3 separate regions of the Homo sapiens genome follow, and all the other regions are linked to region 3. Evidence: promoter capture Hi-C in human tissues and cell types (Jung and others, 2019). All regions are on one chromosome and are shown on one strand. Each heading gives the region's core, a stretch centred on a gene start or on the middle of the fragment in contact. The rest is flanking DNA. Distances are from core to core; before and after follow the strand shown.

Region 1 (3,575 bases), core at 377-2,876, 440 kb after region 3:
GTCTCTCATTGATTTATGACAATGCAAACAGAAGCATCATATGGGTATAGTTTCACTGGATACATTAACTGTGCAATAAAAGATGTTATTTATCATTAATAAACTTAAATCAATCCTGACTCTGATAAAAAGATAAGAATAAAAGATCTTAGTGGGTTCAAGTGTCTAGGAGGAAAGCATCATTCTGTGTTTTGCTTTTGTTCTCTGCTTTTGTCTTTCCTAACAAGGATCTTCTTCTCTCTAGTTCTTTTGGCAGGGAAATAACAACATTTTTCTTCACTAGAGCGCTCAGCAATTGTAGGATGTGTTTGCCTTGACTTACTGCCCTCCCACTCATAACAGAGGAAGGCATCTTTTCTCCAAAGGGCAAAAAGCAACTGAGAAATTCTGGAAGCATCACTAATCCCACAAACTGGCAACCCAGGGTAGTGGCTCAGAGACAGGCTTCCTTTTAGAGTCAGAAATATTTCAGTTCTAACTACATTCCTCCACTTGATCACCTGAACTAGTCATTCAAAGATTTCTTCAGCCTCTTTTAGTTTCCATTTTCTTGGCTTTGGAACATGAAGATGCTCTATAACTTATCAGTGAGGATAACATTAAGTAAGATAATTATTTAAAAAGAACCTATCCCAATAGCAAGTATGCAGTAATTTAATATTAGTTTTTGTTAATAAACACCATTTACTTCTACCCTAAAATGCCCATGTATTCTTCAAAGAAAATAAAATGCTGATGCATCCAAAGCTAGGGTTATAAATCTGGAGACTGTGGCTCGGATGAGTGATTCCCAAACCTGCCTGCTCATCGGAATTTTCTGACGAACTTAAATTGCAGAGGCCACATCCCCAGTGAATCAGAACCCCCTGGGAGAGGGTGTCATGGCAAGAAACTGTGTCTATTAAAAGCTTCCCAGGTGATCTTGATGAGCAGTTGTGTATGGGAACCAGTGGCTGAGACAATCAAGGCTCGAGAAAAATTAGTCCCGTTACATAAAAAGCAAAAGCTAAAAAAAAAAAAATTGCCTCTCAATTTCATTTCCAAATATGTCTCTAAGTTGCCTTTTAAGAAACTATTTTGGAGAATGCCTTGTATGTGTGATTAAATGTGATAAATATAAATATGTAAAGAAACAATATTCACAGAAGAAAAACACTCATGGCAGCCAGCAAAGGTACACGTTGCCATAAATGAGCTTCATGAAACACAGACACATTGTGTGATGAAAAACATGAACCAATCCATCTTTTAGCTTTTATGTTACAATTGGTTAAAATTCAGTAAAGGGTCCTGAGGGCCACTGCAAACTCTTCCCTGATAATGTGGTCCAGAAAAGCCTACAGGAAGTTGTGTAACATCTCAAGAAAGGGTGGTATATGGGAAGCACACATGGATGCCAGCTTCCTTTATATTTGCCCTTAAGGCTGGTCCTTTCCTGTGTATGCTGCCTACCCAGTGGCCCAAGGCAAAAACCTGGCAACACCCATGACTCCCCCTTTCCCCCCAACCTGCCTTACCTGCACAGTGACCAATGTATCCTCTCTATTTCACCTTCTAATCATCTTTCCTCTTGTGCCCCTCTACTGGACCATCACTGGCCCCAAAGAGGCTGTCATTTTCCCATCCTAGCCATTCCAGTGCCCTTGAAAGACAGGAATCTGAATCTGCTTGGGACCAAGGTCCTAACAAAAATGCACTCAGGAACTCATGGATGCTGAAGGTAGACAATGCAATAGATGGGACAGGCAGGTACAAAACTCTCTGGGCCTGATTTGAGACCCTTCAGAGAGGCCTATGTAGAGTCTGCTGGTCTAGAGAGTCTTGTGCCTTTTTATTGGACAAGTCATGGAAAGGGAGGGTCACCAATCCCAGGGTCAAGGTCTCTAGCCAGAGGCTCCAAAAATTTCTATCCACAGAATAAAGATAACACACTATAGGGTAATATAAGACAACAGGCAAGATCTGGGTCAGAGCAGGTATGGATTTGAGTGCATTGCTGCTGTGTCATCTTAGACAAATTTATGACTCTGAACCCCAGCTTCCCTATTTGAAAATGAGAATAACAATGCCCATTTTACAGAGCTACTCTGAGAATTAAAAATATTTAAAATTTAAAAATGCCCAACATGCAGCAATCACTCAATAAATTCTAGCTAATACTGTTATCAATAACTGGATGTATATGTATGTAAGTTTGTGTATTAGAAAGAAACTGAAAAGATGTATTCAAAAGAGAACTATTCTTTAGGGTTACATCATCCTTGGTTTCAATTTTTGATATTTTATTAATTTCCCCACAGCTTAGAAATCTAAGATTCTTCATCCTTTAACAACACAGTATAAATCCAATGCCACTTTGATGACAGTAAGGCCATCAAAATGTGGAAGGGTGAGGGATGAGAGTAGAGAACAGATATGGGTGAGAAACATACTTAAAATGAATGACTTTTGAAGCCTTCTTACAACAAAACAACCAATCACCAATGGCCTTGACCAAAAGGAAAAAAGAGTACACATTGAAATACAAGATGTTATCACATTCACCTATACTATCTACCCAGAATTGGGACATCCATTTGCAGCATGTGAACAAAGTATAATCTTAAATAAACCATGTATTAGTCTGTTTTCATGCTCCTGATAAAGACATATCTGAGACTATGTAATTTATAAAGAAAAGAGGTTTAGTGGACTCACAGTTCCTCATGGCTGGGGAGGCCTCACAATCATGGTGGAAGGTGAAAGACAATTTTTACATGGCAGTGGCAAGAAAGAATGAGAACCAAGTCAAAGGGGTTTCCCCTTATAAAACCATCAGATCTCGTGAGACTTATTCACTACCATGAGAACAGTATGGGTGAAACAACCCCCATGATTCAATTATCTCCCACCGGTCCCTCCCACAACACATGGGAATTATGGGAGCTTCAATTCAAGATGAGATTTGGGTGGGGACACAGCCAAACCATATCAAACTGTATGAGGGTAAATAAAGCTAGCTGCTAGAGTGACAACCCCCAAATCTCAGTGGTGCCATACCATTATGCTCTGTTTCTTACAAGACAGGATCATCATTTCACAAGACAAGAACACATGGTCATGCAAAGACCCAGACGCCTTGCATCCTAGGACCCCATCTCTTTGGAATCCTCTCCAGCCCACTGGTAAACTGGAGGAGAGAAAGATGATCAGAAATGGTAGGTTCTTATGGATCAGGGCTGGAAATAGGCCTCATCCACTCTTCCACTCATATTATATTGGCCTAAACTCAGTTACGTGCCTCCTCACCTATTTACCTAATAGCGATGATGGCTGGAAAATATAGTCCAGCCACAGCCCAGCAAGAAAAAGAGAGTACAAATACTGGTGAGCCTCATGAGTCTCTGGGATTTTCCTAAAGCAAATACTGCATTCAGAGGATTTATTCACTGTGCGTTTTTTCCCAAAGACTGGGAAACCTGTTTATTTTTTAAGATCTTTTACTGATTTCAGGAGCAATTGACTAATCAAGTCCTAGTGTCACTACAGGTGGCGTCTGGCCCTTCTTAAACTACCCTGGGTTCACTTTACCTGTC
Region 2 (3,882 bases), core at 284-2,783, 340 kb after region 3:
GAGGATGTGGACAAAAGGGAACCCTCATATGCAGTTGCTGGGAATGTAAATTAGTACAGTCACTATGGAGAACAGCGTGGAGGTTCCTCAAGAACTAAAAATAGAGCTACTATATGATCCAGCAATCGCACTGCTAGGTATATATCCAAAAGAAAGCAAATCAGTATGTTTAAGAGATATCTACCTTCCCACATTTACTGCAGCACTGTTTACAACAGCCAAGATTTGGAAGCTACCTAAGTATCCATCAACAGATGAATGAATAAAGAAAATGTGGTACATATACACAATGGAGAACTATTCAGTCAAAAAAATAGATTCTGTTATTTACAACAACACTAATGGGACTAAAAGACATTTTGTCAGGCAAAAAAGACAAATTTGCATGTTCTCACTCATTTATAGGAGCTAAAAATTAAAACAACTGAACTCACTCATTGAGCTAGAGTGTAGAAGGATGGTGACCAGAGACTGGGAAGGGTAGTGGGGGTTGGGGGTTGGGGGTTGGGGATTGGGGACGGTTAATGGGTACAAAAATATAGTTAGATGGAATGAATAAGATCTAATATTTGATGGCACAATAGAGGGACTAAAGTTGACAATTTATTGTACATTTTAAAATAACTAAAAGTGCATAATTGGATTGTTTGTAACACAAAGAAAGGAAAAATGCTTAAGATGATGGATACCCCATTTACCCTGATGTGATTATTACACATTGTATGCCTGTATCAAAATATCTCAAGCACCCCATATACACCTACTATATATGCACAAAAATTAAAAATGAAAAAAATCTAATTAAAAAAAGGAAAATAGGTAACACCATGGGGACACTGTGGGGGGACACAACACCAAGAGATGTTGATTAAAGGATTCCTGATTTCAGTCAGGTAAGGGTAATAACTCCTGCATGACATGGTGACTATAATTACAATGTAGTATATTCTTGCCAGTTGCCAGGAGAGTAGATTTTAAGTGTTCATACCACAAAAAATGACCAGTATGTCAGGTAATGCATATCTTATTAGCTCAATTTGGCTATACCACAATGTATACATATTTCAAAACATTATATTGTACATGATAAATATATACAATTGTATTTGTCAATCAAAAACAATTTTTTAAGTCAAAAGTAAAAAAAAAATACACCAAGCTAGAAGTCAGGAGACCTGGCTTCTACATTTGAGTCAGTCACTAACTCTCTCTGTCAGTTGATACAATTCACTAAACCTCTTGGAGCCTGTTTTCTCATCAATAAACTGAGGAGTTTAACCAAAAAGATTTGTTTTAACCTCATCAATTAGTATTTTGATAATTTTTTCTGCTATAAATTTACAAAATAACTTCTCCTCTACATGAACAATGGTCAGTAAGAGTTGTCAGATAAAAGACAGGAAAACATAACAAAACTGAAAATAAAACATGGTTCAGGTTATAGGGCCAGAGGCCAGAGGGGCCCAGAAGCCAAAACTGCAGATGGAGTTAGGACTGTGAAACCAAACAAGCAATCTGGCATCAGAAAGCCCAAAGAGCAGATCCAGATACTCAGCAAGAAGACATCGTGGCCAAAGAATGAGGTCATCAAGAAAATCGAAAGCAAAAAGTCCTAACTGAGCCACGTGGTGGATTAGAATATGTCTATCCCAAGTCAGAAAATAACGAGTCAAAAGCCTATGAGAAAGTTAAAAAAAGTTGAGAGACATGAAAAAGAAAATCAAGTCCCAACAATTTCTCCTGTACAATGCTTGCAGTAATATGTCTCAGGCCATGCCTGGCATAGGCCACAGTCAAAGCTGTGGAAAATGTCTGCTGGGAAATGTCAGTTTCCTTTCCTGATAGAGGTTTCCAGAATTTCAATGGACAAGGCAAAAAAAAAAAAAAATCCCTGTAAAGTCAGTTAAAAACCTATGGGATCAAAAGGACAAGAGGTTTGAGGCTGAGATACAGGCACTTGGGCCTAATTTTGCACCCGTTTTGGTTTTTTTTTTGTTTTGTTTTTGTTTTTTTTTGGTCATTGCCACTGAGGTCTCCATCAAAGCTCCTGGGCTAAGCCTCTATAGGTGTGCCTTCTCATCTTGAAAATTGCCAGTATAGGGCTAGCCATATGTAGAGAGCTGAAACTGGATCCCTTCCTTACACTTTATACAAAAATTAATTCAAGATGGATTAAAGACTTAAATGTTAGACCTAAAACCATAAAAACCCTAGAAGAAAACCTAGGCAATACCATTCAGAACATAGGCATGGGCAAGGACTTCATGACAAACACCAAAAGCAATGGCAACAAAAGCCAAAATAGACAAATGGGATCTAATTAAACTAAAGAGCTTCTGCACAGCAAAAGAAACTACCATCAGAGTGAACAGGCAACCTACAGAATTGAAGAAAATTTTTGCAATCTGCCCATCTGACAAAGGGCTAATATCCAGAATCTACAAAGAACTCAAACAAATTTACAAGAAAAAAACAAATAACCCCATCAAAAAGCGGACAAAGGGTAGGAACAGACACTTCTCAAAAGAAGACAGCTATGCAGCCAACAGACCATGAAAAAATGCTCATCATCACTGGTCATCAGAGAAATGCAAATCAAAACCACAGTGAGATAGCATCTCATACCAGTTAGAATGGCAATCACTAAAAACTCAGGAAACAACAGATGCTGGAGAGGATGTGGAGGAAATACGAACGCTTTTACACTGTTGGTGGCAGTGTAAATTAGTTCAACCATTGTGGAAGACAGTGTGGAGATTCCTCAAGGATCTAGAACTAGAATTACCATTTGACCCAGCCATCCCATTACTGGGTATATACCCAAAGGATTACGAATCATGCTACTATAAAGACACATGCACACGTATGTTTATTGTGGCAATATTCACAATAGCAAAGACTTGGAACCAACCCAAATGTCCATCAATGATAGACTTGATTAAGAAAATGTGGCACACATACACCATGGAATTCTATGCAGCCATAAAAAAGGGATGAGTTCATGTCCTTTGCAGGGACATGGATGAAGCTGGAAACCATCATTCTCAGCAAACTATCACAAGGACAGAAAATGAAACACTGCATGCTCTCACTCATAGGTGGGAATTGAACAATGAGAACGCCTGGACACAGGGTGGGGGACATCACACAGCGGGGCCTGTTGGGGAGTGGGGGGCTGGGGGAGGGATAGCATTAGGAGAAATACCTAGAGTAAATGATGAGTTGATGTGTTCAGCAAACCAACATGGCACATGTATACCTATGTATCAAACCTGCACGTTGGACACATGTACCCTAGAAGTATAATAATAATGTAAAAAGAAGTTAAAAATGAAAAACAAAAAAAGAAAATTGTCAGTATAGAATACAGAAAAGCCCTATATTATATATACATATATATTCTATACTATATATACAGTATATTCTATATTCTATACTTAACAGAAAGCTTTATTTTCTCAGAGCTTGGGACTTAGTGAATATTTATTCAAATAATGAGGGCAGCCAAGATGGCTGAATAGGAAGAGCTCCAGTCTACAGCTCCCAGCATCAGCGACGCAGAAGACGGGTGATTTCTGCATTTCCATCTGAGGTACCGGGTTCATCTCACTAGGGAGTGACAGACAGTGGGTGCAGGACAGTGGGTGCAGCACACCATGTGCCAGCCGAAGCAGGGCGAGGCATTGCCTCACTCGGGAAGCACAAGGGATCAGGGAGTTCCCTTTCCTAGTCAAAGAAAGGGGTGACAGACGGTACCTGGAAAATCAGGTCACTCCCACCCTAATACTGCGCTTTTCCAACAGGCTTAAAAAATGGCACACCAGGAGATTATATCCCGCACCTGGCTTGGAGGGTCCTACGTCCATGGAGTCTCATTGATTG
Region 3 (3,689 bases), core at 446-2,945:
ATGTGGAAAGTGGAGAGGGACAGCACGATGAGGCAGAAGATGAGGGTAACCAGGACAATCAGCACCAGCGTGGAGGAGAAGGACTGGAAGAGCTGCTGTCCCACCTGCGTGATGCAGGTGCCGCTGCCTACTGCGCCTGGGCCGCGGGCACCCGTGTTGCCGCTGCCGCTGGCGTTGGGGGAAGCAAAGGTCCGGTTGAGGAGACACGGCGGCAACGCCAGCCTCAGCTCCTTCGGCGCCCTGGCACTCATTGGCGCGGGGCTGGGAGGGGCCAGGCCCACTAGGCTTCCCCTCTTGGGCACACCGTTCCTACCAGCCAAGAAGAGGACGGAGCCCACGCCACCCAAAACTGCTCCCTGTAGCGGGAGGGGGTGTGCGAGCGAGCCAAGGACTAAGGGAGCAACTGCTGGCAAGCAAGGCGACCAAGGAGTGAGCGGCGCCCGAGAGATCCTCGCCGATACCACCTCGAACACGTCTCCACGCTCCCCTTTCCTTTGCAGAGGCACCAGGCTGCAAAGACACAAAGCTTAGTTAGAATCTCGGCCGCTGCCCAGGGGAGTGCTGTCGGGAAAGATCAACCACCACCGCAAAGCGGCCCTCTGGGCACACTGCCTGAGCTGGGCGCTGCCTGTATTTTCGGTCAGCGGACCCCAGCCTGCCGGCCCGTGGCCGTGCACCAGAGCCACCAGCAGCCTGCTCATGCCACTCGACAGGATGGGGTCTGCGCCGGCACCGCGGAGGTGCAGATTACTCAGCAGATAAGGCAGCCTCCCTTCCGCCCTTCACAACTTTATAATTGCAACAGACACGCAGCCGCTTTGGTTGAAGTCCCTACTTCCCAGAGCGCCGGCTCTCCTCTTTTCTGCGCCCTCTCGGTTGATGTCTTCGCCTGGATCCTACCCTTCCCAGCACCCACTCCGGGCCGCCGCGCGGGCTCCGGGTACGCAGTCCTCCCTTCCTTTCCCTCCCCGTCCAGACTCGCCCTCCCTGGACAGCGTCAGATCCCTTGGGTCCCATTCCCAGGGGGATACCCCTGGCACCACATCCCACTCTGCCTCTGTCCGCGACCGCGGCTGACGCGCAGGAACGCGCTCCATCTCTTCTCCAGCCTTCTTCCCTGGTATTCTCCCCTCTCCAAAAAAAAAAAAAAAAAAAAAAAAAAGCAGCTGAAGCATCTTTCTCAGCTGACACATTCCCACAAACGGCCCCCTCCTCCCCATTTCCCTGTGCCCCCAACTTGGCAGTAGCCTGCTTCTTTCTAGAGGAGCTGGAATGGAAAGGGGAGGGTTCCCGCCTGCAAAGTTTGGGGAACGGGACCTTCTTTCTGTCCTTCCCAGACCCAGCCCAAAGGCCCCGAGGCTTTTCCGGCATACTGGAGCCGGTAGACCCGCAGCGCACAGGAGAGCCTCCTTGCTGCTCCCAAGAGGCAGCTGCAAACTGTTGCACTGCGGAGTAGCGAGGTAGCGCGCAAGCAAGCCAGGGCAGGGGCCGGGGGCAGGGGCGGGGGCTGGAGCTATGGCCAGGGGTGGCTGCTCAGGCCGCGTGAGCTGTCCTCCCCACTCGCACCTGGCCGTCAGGCCACCCGGCCATCAGAAGCCTTTACTCACACCTTGTCTCTTACCTGGACCGCCGGCTGGCTGCAAGGAGGGAGCCCCCGCCGCGCGGCTGCAGTGGCGGCTGCAGAAAGCGTGGAGTGAATGGACCAGAGACCGAGCCGCGCTGCTGCCGCCGCCGCCGCCGCCGCCGCCGCCTTCGCCGCCGCTTCAGGGAGCTGAGCTCGCAGCCTATTGCCAGAGAGGCCGGTGACGTCAGGCAGCCACCGCCAGGGCTCCAAGCCACCCCTCAGGCCCCCACCCACCCTAGTACCCCAACACCTTGTCCTAGCATAGCGAGCCTCTGACACACACTTCCCAGTTCCCTGCCCTTCTCCAGCCCAGGAACTAGGAGGAGCAACCCCTACCTCCACCCTGCAAGCAACCCACCTTTCTCACTCTCTTGCCTAGGAAGAGTTGAATCTTCAGTTCTCCAGCTGTCTGATTTCGTTCTAGAGCTGACCCTTTGGTCCCAGAATCACATTTTTACACTCTGGATAGCCATCTACCATCGGTGCACACATCACCGGTGGTGATGAAAATTTCCCCCACCGCTAATTCCTCTCTGTGCTGCCCGTTTCTGAACATAAACTGCGTGCATTAGAGAGATGGCAGGGACGTTTCTCAACATAAGTGTGACAGAACCCAAAACACAAACCTGAACAAATTAAACAATCCAAATTAGCCATTTTTCTCCACTGGAGTTTCCAAGTTATCTTTCGCTCCATCTGATTCAAGATCCTCCTTCTTGCATCCCTCACATCTTCATCTCCAGGCCCCAGACCCACTCAATGTATTAAACACTCCTTCTATTCTGACAATCTAGACACTCATGAGCACACAAACCCTAGTCTTACAAGGAAGAAATATGAAATTATTCACAGGAAGGCAGAAATGAACTGCCTTATGAAAATTCCAAGTATTTGTAGCTTGCACAAAGTACCCCTTCATTGACCCTAATTCTTGGTAAAGTGTTTGGAGCACAACTTTTAGCAAAATACATAGAACTTCCAGAAAAGAATTCAACAGCCTCCCTAAATCTTGGAAGAGACTAGTTAACTATTGGTTTAGGAGCCTTGGAAAAATATGAATAGTGCATTTGGTTACAGAATCCAGCTTTGAAATGGAGTATGCTCATTTTTCTGTTGGAGAAGCTAGCTGGGAACAGTACCTAAAGACATTGCATGGTCTTTGAAGGCACTCAGGTGTCTTACTAAACGTGCGTTTTCTTCTTTGCTCCCTGTCTTCTTTTCTATCTTTGAGTCTAGCACAGTGCCTGTAGTTTACTTGATAAATTGAATGATACAGTGTATGTTGTTGCTCTTTCCTGCAATGCATCAGAAATGACTGATGCCCAGTTATCTGCTTGTATTTGCTGTATTTGTAAAGAAAGAGGGTCTGATATGTGGAGGAAAGGCTGTCTGTAATCTGGGGGTCCCTTCTTCGGACTCTGTGTTTAGGGTCATACAGTTACTGATGTCTGCCCCCCGCCCCCACCCCAATGCTAGCCTCACCTTCCTGACTGGAATGAGAGCACCAGATGCCTGCAATAGCCACCTGCCACATTTGGACAATTTGACTTTGGTGGGCTTAGGGGATGGAATGGTGAGCCTTTTTATTTATTTATTTATTTTTTACGCTGTGACTAAGTGACACTTTACCATTGATGCCTGACAGGCAATGTCCCATTTTTTCACACTCGCTTTGCTCCTGAAAAGTTGAGTCTAATAAACATTTTGTAAAGCAAATCCAATTTTGGATTCTCCAAAAAGAGATCTGGCTATTTCAAGAGACTCTTTAGCAAAAAATAAAAAATTTTTTAAAAAATGTTATTTTGTAAAGCAAAGAATTTTTATGCAATTAGAATTAACTCTTGGCCAGGCACGGTGGCTCATGCCTGTAATGTCAGCACTTTGGGAGGCTGAGGCAGGTGGATCACCTGAGGTCAGGAGTTAGAGGTCAGCCTGGCCAACATGGTGAAACCCTGTCTCTACTAAAAATAACAAAATAAATAAATAAATAAATAAATAAATAAATAAATAAATAAATAAAAGCCGGGCATGGTGACAGGCACCTGTAATTCCAGCTACTCGGGAG

Evidence for each region. The method cuts DNA at HindIII sites, captures the fragments that hold promoters and counts their contacts. A contact is called where the count stands out against the background at its distance.
Region 1: a contact is called between a fragment that was not itself captured here and the fragment with the promoter of C11orf87 in region 3, in 1 of the 25 tissues and cell types used here (dorsolateral prefrontal cortex).
Region 2: a contact is called between a fragment that was not itself captured here and the fragment with the promoter of C11orf87 in region 3, in 1 of the 25 tissues and cell types used here (H1 embryonic stem cells).

What each region holds. Positions count from the first base shown.
Region 1 is chr11:108,981,084-108,984,658 of GRCh38, reverse strand. No RefSeq gene overlaps it. Among named protein-coding and RNA genes, the nearest start is that of DDX10, 320 kb to the right of the region's middle. The HindIII fragment of the contact is 6,435 bases long and covers 1-3,575 here.
Region 2 is chr11:109,083,836-109,087,717 of GRCh38, reverse strand. No RefSeq gene overlaps it. Among named protein-coding and RNA genes, the nearest start is that of C11orf87, 340 kb to the left of the region's middle. The HindIII fragment of the contact is 9,594 bases long and covers 1-3,882 here.
Region 3 is chr11:109,420,196-109,423,884 of GRCh38, reverse strand. It overlaps C11orf87 (chromosome 11 open reading frame 87), which reads right to left and starts at 1,695. Exons shown (of 2, transcript NM_207645.4): 1 at 1,622-1,695; 2 at 1-510. The coding sequence starts at 251. The HindIII fragment of the contact is 6,027 bases long and covers 1-3,689 here.